Linked DNA regions of Homo sapiens: region 2 is linked to region 1. Evidence: promoter capture Hi-C in 16 types of primary human blood cells and fetal thymus (Javierre and others, 2016). All regions are on one chromosome and are shown on one strand. Each heading gives the region's core, a stretch centred on a gene start or on the middle of the fragment in contact. The rest is flanking DNA. Distances are from core to core; before and after follow the strand shown.

What was found. The method cuts DNA at HindIII sites, captures the fragments that hold promoters and counts their contacts. A CHiCAGO score of 5 or more calls a contact.
Region 2: a contact is called between a fragment that was not itself captured here and the fragment with the promoter of MYO15B in region 1, in 11 of 17 cell types (endothelial precursors, erythroblasts, megakaryocytes and 8 more). The highest score is 12.8, in endothelial precursors.

The regions. Positions count from the first base shown.
Region 1 is chr17:75,586,550-75,589,049 of GRCh38, reverse strand. It overlaps MYO15B (myosin XVB), which reads right to left and starts at 1,250. Exons shown (of 64, transcript NM_001395058.1): 1 at 1-1,250. The coding sequence starts at 992. RefSeq lists a silencer at 19-148 and enhancers at 1-600, 1,029-1,098, 601-1,434. The HindIII fragment of the contact is 9,041 bases long and covers 1-2,500 here.
Region 2 is chr17:75,744,990-75,751,123 of GRCh38, reverse strand. ITGB4 (integrin subunit beta 4) reads right to left here. Exons shown (of 40, transcript NM_000213.5): 27 at 2,079-2,283; 28 at 856-1,013; 29 at 264-444; 30 at 13-150. Among named protein-coding and RNA genes, the nearest start is that of GALK1, 17 kb to the left of the region's middle. The HindIII fragment of the contact is 2,980 bases long and covers 1,195-4,174 here.

The DNA.
Region 1 (2,500 bases), core at 1-2,500:
GGGTCCTCCGGCCCCGCTCCTGCTGCGGCTCCCGCTTCGCCCTCGCCTGCCGCCGCTGGCACCTGCCCCACCGCCTTTCCGACCTGGTGGCGCGGAGCCCGGGCCGTCGAGGCCTGCATTGTTTCTGGCTCGGCGCCCCGCTGCGCCCGGTTGTCGCTCGCGTCCTTGGCCGGCCCAGTGTCCCGAGGAGCCCGCGAGCTGTCCTCGAAGGTCCTGGAGGCCATAGCTGCCCGAGAGCCCCGTCCAGGTCCGGTCCCCAGCGGACTCGAGTCGGAGTCCCCGCCGGAATGCTCGCTGGCTCCCAGGGGCCCCGTCCCCGACGACCCTTCCCGGCCCCGGGTATCTGCGTGGGGCCAGTCGCTGTCCAGGCCGTCGCTGCTTGGCTCCAGCGCTGACTCCGGCCCGGTTTTTGTCCCTTCCGAGCCCATGTCCGTAGGCTCCGGCGTGGGCCGCAGCTCCCGGGCTGTGCCGCGCTGGCTGCCGCTCTCCTGGGCCTCGCGGGTTTCGCTGTCCGGACAGGAGCTGCCTCCGTCCCCACCCGACGTGTCCCCATTGAGGCTCCTGGGCGTCCGGCGGCCCCGCCGAGCCGAGGGCCCCTTATCTTTCCGCTTCCTCCTACGGCGGCCGCCCAGCTCTTCTCCTCCGGAGAGGCTTCCCTCCTCCAGGCGCCCCCCGCGGCCGCCCCTGGGCCCGCGTCCCTGACGCTGCGCGTTGCTTTGCCTCTCCTGGGCTTTCGGGGACAGCCCAGCCCCTGGGCGTCTGCAGCCGCCGTTCCCCTCTGCAGTGGGCTTCCTGCGGCCACCAGGGGTTCCCTGGCCCCCGGCGGTGGCAGGCTCGGCCGCCGGTTTCGCCCTGTCCGCCTGCCCGCGGTCGGAACGGCGTTCCCGGCTGGGCGCGCCATCCGCGCTGGCCGACCCCGACTCCTGCTCCCCTGAGGCCGGCCTCCCGGGCCTCTCCAGGCGCTGGGGCGCTTTGCGCTGGTTCCTGCCCATGGCTGGCCCAAAGGAGACGGGCTTCCCGACGCCCAGGTCCTTTCCCCTCCCCGGGGATTTGGCCTCCCGCGGTGACCTTCTGTGCAGTGCACCACCCGGCTCTGCTCTCGCAGGGGCTACAGGCTCTACTCCCCGAGGTGCCCGCCTTACAGGACCATCAATAATGCAGAAGGCGGCGGGTCCTGACCCCCTCGGCCAACAATGGAATAGAGGCGCCCAGGAAACAGGAGACGCTACAGCTGCGGACAGGGCAACAGTGCCGCCGGGAGGCGCTGCCAGCCAGGCCAGCCTCGCACCGCGCCAGACTGAGGGGGTCCATGCTCCACTCCCACCTCAGTGCTTGCCCAGCAAGGAAGGGCCCAGAGAACCTGTCTGGACTTCTTCCTTCTGAGGGTTCCAAGGGACTGGGGCCAGGCCCACCCTGGCACACGGCAGCACTCCATGAGTCGCTAGGGTTTTTGTTCTTTTCAATTGTGGAATAAATACAATTTACCGAAAAGTACATAAAACATAAATGTACATCTTGAACTGGTGTAAAACATGCCTGTCTACCTCCTTGGAGTTGTGGAACAGAACCACACCCCATACATTCCTGATTGCCCCAATGTGTGTGTTTTTAAAATATCTATTTTTAAAACAGGTAATACATTCACATAATTCAAACATCCAAACATTACAAGATAAAAGTCTCCCATTCCTGACCCTCAGCCTATGTACTCAGTGTTCCCCTGAGGTTACCCATTTCTGTATTTCCTTGCAAAATTTTCCAGGTTGGCCGGGCGCGGTGGCTCACGCCTGTAATCCCAGCACTCTGGGAGGCCAAGGAGGGCGGATCACGAGGTCAGGAGATGGAGACCATCCTGGCTAACATGGTGAAACCCCCGTCTCTACTAAAAAATACGATAAATTAGCCGGTCGTGGTGGGGGGCGCCTGTAGTCCCAGCTACTCGGGAGGCTGAGGCAAGAGAATGGCATGAACCCAGGAGGCAGGAGAGAATGGCATGAACCCAGGAGGCAGAGCTTGCAGTGAGCTGAGATCACACCACTGCACTCCAGCCTGGGTGACAGCATTTTGTTTGTCTCAAAAACAAAGAAACAACAACAAAAACTTTCCATGCAGAGAAAAGCAAATATTATATTTTTCCCCTTTAGCACAAGTGGTAGCTTATGTAGCTCCGGGGTCTCCACTTTGCCTTTTTCACTTAACAATGTAATCTGGTGATTTCATAATAATACCATAAAAAGCCAGCCTGCCTTCCTCCCTTCTCTCCTCCCTCTCTTCCTTGCAAATAAATGCACCATGGTTGAACCAATTCCTTATTGATGGGTTTCTACATCCAAAGTGGATCCTGGCCAAGTGAGGTGGCTCATGCCTGTAATCCCAGCATTTTGGGAGGCCGAAGTGGGTGGATCACCTGATGTCAGGAGTTCGAGATCTGCCTGGCCAACATGGTGAAACCCCATCTCTACTAAAAATACAAAAATTACCTAGGTGTGGTGGCACATGC
Region 2 (6,134 bases), core at 1,435-3,934, 160 kb before region 1:
TCTGGTTCTTACGGTTGTCATCGTTGACCAGGCCATAGCAGACCTCGTAGGCTGTGATCTCACCGTTGGTCTCAGCCGGCTCAGCCCAGCTCAGCTGGGTCACCGTGGAGGAGACGACATTGAAGGCCAGACGCCCTGGCTCGCTGGGCACTAGGGAGCGGGGAATACAGGAAGAGTGCTGTCAGTGGCAGAGGGAGGGAGGTCTGGGCATGCTGGCATCAGGGCAGCCAGGGGACAAATGGACAGACATGGCGAGGCCTCACCTTCCTGGTGGGTGCGGCAGGACACCAGGGAGCTGTAGGGTCCCTCGCCCTGAGCCCCGTAGGCGCACACCTTCATCTCATAGTCGCAATACGGGTACAGGTTGGTGAGCTCCACTGAGGGCACCTTGCTGTCGAGCAGGTGGGCTTCGGATTCGGAGTCACCCTGAATCCAGTACTTTACCTACCCCCAGGGACAGGGGTCCTGGTCAGCAGGGAGCAGCAGGCACCCAAGCTGCCTGTCCCTCCTCTGACCTCTGCCCTTACTGTCCTCTTTGCACAGATGAGGCCCGAGGGAGGGGCTGAGAGATCTGCCATGTGCACACGTCAGGACTAGGGCAGAGCAGGTGGGGGTATCTCCCATGCGGGGGTGGGAGGGGGCCCCATTCTAGGAAGGAGGGCAAATGTCTGATAAACTCAGGAATGGGTCTTCCCTCTTTCCCAGCACAGACCGGGTTTCCCTCTGACCACCTGTGCTAGGTTCCACTGTCTGCTCTCTCTCAGGGGGCCCTGGCCTTGGACGGCCCACCTCTTCTGTGAGTGCTGGTGCCAGACCGCCCATCCACCTGTCGTGACCCTCAGCCCCCCGCCTTACCCTGTACCCCATTGGCTTGCCAGAAGGGGGCAGCCAGTTGAAATGGATCTTCCTGGACCCAGCGGCCTTAGCATTGGGGTTCTGCGGGGCGCCCAGGTCGCCGTGAGGGGGTGGCTGTGATGACAACATCTGACTCGTGAAGCTCCGGTCCAGTTCATCTAACGGGTCAGGTTGGGGCCGGGCAACCACTCAGATCCCCCTTCACCACCAGGGGGCGCCAGAGACCCACTTCAACACCCAGGGCGCTCTACCCAGCGCATTCAACTCAGACCTGCCCACCCGCGTCTCTGGAGACCTGGTGGTGCCCCATTGCTGCCACATAGAGCATCCTGCCAAGCTTGGCGGAGGACCCAGGAGGGTCTCTGGAGGAACAGAAGCGGGAGGGAGTTGGTCTGCCCCTTTCTCCCTTGGCAGCTCAGGGAACATTCCACATGAGAACATTTGCTCCCCACCCCATCTCCACACTGTACCCTGAGTATCTCCCTCCTCTCCCATCTTCCTGGCAGGCTTTCTCCCAGTTGGGAGGCTGAGGGCTGATAGGAACTAACTGGCCCACTCCTTCCTTCCACAAGCATCTGCATGTTAGTTGGAATTGAGGCTGAAGCCAAAGGGCCAGGGTCTGATGGGAGAATTCCTATTGTGTGGTGACAACAGCCTCTCTAGCTGTAGGGTTGCCAGATAAAATGCAGGATGCCTAGTTACATTTGAATTTCAGATAAACAACAAGATTATTTTTTCTTGGGGGACAGGATCTCATTCCATGGCCCAGGTGCTGTGCAGTGGTGCGATCACAGCTTGCTGCGGCCCAGACCCCCTGGGCTCAAGTGATCCTCCCACCTCAGTCTCCGGAATAGCTGGGACTGCAGGTGCACACCACTATGCCAAGCTAATTTGTTTATTTTTTGTAGAGACGAGGTCTCACTATGTTGCCCAGGCTGGTCTAGAACTCCTGGGCTCAAGTGATCCTCCCACCTTGGCCTCCCAAAATGCTGGGATTACAGGTGTGAGCCAGTATACCCAGCCCATTTTGCAAAAAAAAGGATAAGTATGTTCCAAATATTGCATGGGACATACTTATCCTACCAACGTGTATGTTGTTTACCTGAAATTCAGATTTACCTGGGCGTCCTGTGTTTGGATTTGCTAAGTCTGACAGACCTAGTTGAGAGACCCCCCAGTCTTCCCTCTCCTCCTGCTTAAGCCGACCCCCAGGCTCTGCCTACCTGGGTCCCTGATGATGATGGTGGTGGAGTGGGGCTGGCCCAGGTGGGCCCCAAACTTAGGGTTGCTGAGCTGGACGTGGAAACGGCGGACCTGGCGGCCCCGCAGGAGGGAGTCAACTTCTTGCAGCTCCAGGAGCTTCACCTGCAGCTCTTTCCAGGCCTCCCCAGGCTGGAACAGCAGCTCACCCTCCACGGGGATGTAGTCCTGGGAGTGGAGGGGGTCAGGGTCAGGGTCATGGCTGGGGGCTGAGGCAAGAGTCATGGCCACACGCTCCCTCCCAACCTCATGGACACTGCAGAGACCATCCCTGCTTGCTGGGTGGAGTACTTACACGAGGTTCAGGTTTTTGTGTTTTTTTTGTTTGTTTTTTTTTTTGAGGCGTAATCTCACTCTGTCACCTAGGCTGGAGTGCAGTGGCATGATCTCGGCTTACTGCAACCTCCACCTTCCAGGTTCAAATGATTCTCACACCTCATCTTCCTGAGTAGCTGGGATTACAGGCACCTGCCACCACGCCTAGCTAATTTTTGTATTTTTAGTAGAGATGGGGTTTCACTATGTTGGCCAGGCTGGTCTCGAACTCCTGACTTCAAGTGATCCTCCCACCTTGGCCTCCCAAAGTGCTGGGATTACAGACATGAGCCACCATGCCCAGCCACGTTTCTGTTTGTTTGTTTGTTTTTGAGACAGGGTCTCACTCTGTCACCCAGGCTGGAGTGTAGGGGCACAATCACAGCTCACTGAAGCCTTGACCTCCTGGGCTCAGGCCATCCTTCCCCTCAGCCGCCTGAGTAGCTGGGACTACAGGCGTGCACCACACCTGGCTATTTTTTTTTTTTTTTTTTTTGTAGAGGCACGGTTACCCTATGTTGCCTAGGCTGGTCTTGAACTCCCGGCCTCAAGCGATCCGCCCACCTTGGCCTCCCAAAGTGCTGGGATTACAGGCGTGAGCCACCCATCTTCCTTTCAGTGCCGTGGAGCATGCCTGAGCTTTCCAGGATAAGAACTGGGAGGAAAAAGAAAATCCTTCACATAGAAGACCACTAGGTGGCACTTCAGGGCAAGATTTCAATTCCAGGCGCAGCAGCCAGGGCGATGGCTGGGGAGGCAACCTCATGCCACCCAACTCAGAAAGTGAGACCCATAGTTGTAAAACAAACAAACAAAAAACAAACCAGGGAGCTGCCTGCAAGCAACCTACATGGATACTTCAAAAACGTCAGTGTCATTAGCCCGGCATGGTGGCCGGTGCCTGTAATCCCAGCTACTCGGGAGGCTAAGGCAGGAGAATTGCTTGAACCCGGGAGGCAGAGGTTGCAGTGAGGCACTGTACTCCAGCCTGGGTGACAGAGCGAGACCTTGTCTTAACAAAAGTCAGTGTCACGGAAGACAAAGCCAGGAAACTTTTCTAGATTAAAGGAGTCAAGACACGTGACAAAAGTCAATGCCAAATCCTTGATTAGTTCCTGCATTGGGGGGAAAAACGCTATAAAGGACATTATTGGGACATCCGAACAAGGGGACATTGGAATATGGACCTATTTTATTTTATTTTATATATTTTTTGGGATGGAGTTTTGCTCTTTTGCCCAGACTGGAGTGAAGTGGCGCAATCTTGGCTCACTGCAACCTCCACCCACTGGGTTCAAATGATTCTCCTGCCTCAGCCTCCCTAGTAGCTGAGATTACAGGCGTGTGCCACCATGCCCGGCTAATTTTTGTATTTTTAGTAGAGATGGGGTTTCTCCATGTTGGTCAGGCTGGTGTCAAACTCCTGACTTCAGGTGATCCACCTGCCTCAGCCTCCCAAAGTGCTGGGATTACAGGTGTGAGCCACCACGCCTGGCTGGAATATGGACTAATTTTAGGTACTAGTATAATCAATGTGAAGATACAGATGTCCACATCTCTATTTATATTTCTATGTTGCTATCTATATAGAAAGAGAGAGAAAGCAAATATTAGCAATCGGTGAATCTATGTAAAGGGTAAATGGGTGCTAGTTTTACTGTTCCTTCCATTTTTCTGTAAGTTGAAGTTTTTAAAAATAAAAAGGTGAGAAATTAAAATGTTTTAAAAAACAAATATCAAAGCTTTTTTTTTTTTTTTTTTTTTGAGACAGGGGTTTCACTCTGTCACCCAGGCTGGAGTGCAGTGGCACTATCTCGGCTAACTGCAACCTCCACCTACTGGGCTCTACCTCAGCCTCCCGAGTAGCTGGGACCACAGGTGCACACCACAACACCCAGATAATTTTCTGTATTTTTGGTACAGACAGGGTTTCGCCATGTTGGCCAGGCTGGTCTTGAACTCCTGATCTCAAGCGATCTGCCCGCCCTGGCCTCCCAAAGTGCTGGGATTACAGGCATGAGCCACTGTACCCAGCCTCAAAGCATCTTTATACAAGTGTAACAGGGTAGCCAGAAGGCAAGGCAAAAGGATCATGTTATCCTAGGAGTTTGAGACCAGCCTGGGCAACATGGCGAAACCCTATCTCTACTAAAAATATAAAATGGCCGGGCGCGGTGGCTGATGCCTGTAATCCCAGCACTTTGGGAGGCTGAGGTGGGCGGATCACGAGGTCAGGAGTTCGAGACCAGCCTGACCAACATGGTGAAACCCCGTCTCTACTAAAAATACAAAATTTAGCTGGGTGTGGTGGTGCGCACCTGTAGTCCCTGTTACTTGGGAGGCTGAGGCAGGAGAATCGCTTGAACCCTGGAGGTGGAGGTTGCAGTAAGCTGAGATCGCGCCAGCCTGGGCAACAGAGTGAGACTCCGTCTCAAAGAAAAAAAAATACAAAATTAGCCGTGCGGTGGTGGACATCTGTAGTCCCAGCTACTTGGGAGGTTGAGGTTGAAGGACTGCTTGAGCCCAGGAGTTCAAGATTGCAGAGAGCTAGGACTGTGCCCCTGTACTCCACCCTGGACTAGAGGGAGACCTTGTCTCTTAAAAGAAAAAAATTATTCTTTGGAATTTTTATGGGGGGACATTGGAAAAATAATGAGAACAGTTCCTGTCAATAAAAAGAAGTAAATAAAATTAGGATGTGGCCAGGCAGCCCGGGCCTGCTGACTACGCGCTCCCCTATGTTTGCTGAATGGGCCTGTGGGCCCAGGGAGGCGAGACTTTATTACTTTTGAGATAATTTTTTTTTTCTTTTTTCGAGACAGAGTCTCACTCTGTCGCTCAAGCTGTAGTGCAGTGGCATGATCTCGGTTCACTGCAGCCTCCACCTCCTGGTTTCCAGCAATTCTCCTGCCTCGGCCTCCCGGGTAGCTGGGATTAGAGGCACGTGTCACCATGCCCAGCTAATTTTTGTATTTTTAGTAGAGACAGGGTTTCACCATGTTGGCCAGGCTGGTCTCGAACTCGTGACCTCAGGCGATCCACCTGCCTTGGCCTCCCACAGTGCTAGGATTACAGGCATACGCCACCTCGCCTGGCCTTTATTATTATTATTATTTTTTTAAAATAGAGACAGGGTCTTACTATGTTGCCCAAGCTGGCCTGCAACTCCTGGGCTCAAGTGATCCTCCCACTGTGCCCTCCCACAGTGTTGGGATTACATGCATGAGCTACTGCACTGAGCCAGGTTTTGTTTCTTTGTTTTTTTGTTTGATTTTTAAAAAATTAATTATTATTATTTTTTTAGACAGGGTCTTACTCTGTTGCCTAGGCTGAAGTACAGTGGCATGAACATGGCTCACTGTAGCCTCAACCTCCTGGCCTCAAGTGATCTTCCTGCCTCAGCCTTCCAAGTAGCTGGGTCCACAAGTATGCACTACCATGCCCAGCTAATGTTTAAATTATATGTATAGACATGGTCTCACCACGTTGCCTAGGCTGGTCTTGAACTCCTGGGTTTAAGTGATTCTCCCACCTTAGCCTCCCAAAGTGCTGGGATTACAGGTGTGAGCCACCATGCCCCGCCTTTGTTTTTAATTATGGATTTGTTGCCAACATTTAAAAACTAGAAAGGCCAGGTGCACTGGCTTACACCTGTAATCCCTGCACTTTGGGAAGCCGAGGTGGGCGGATCACTTGAGATCAGG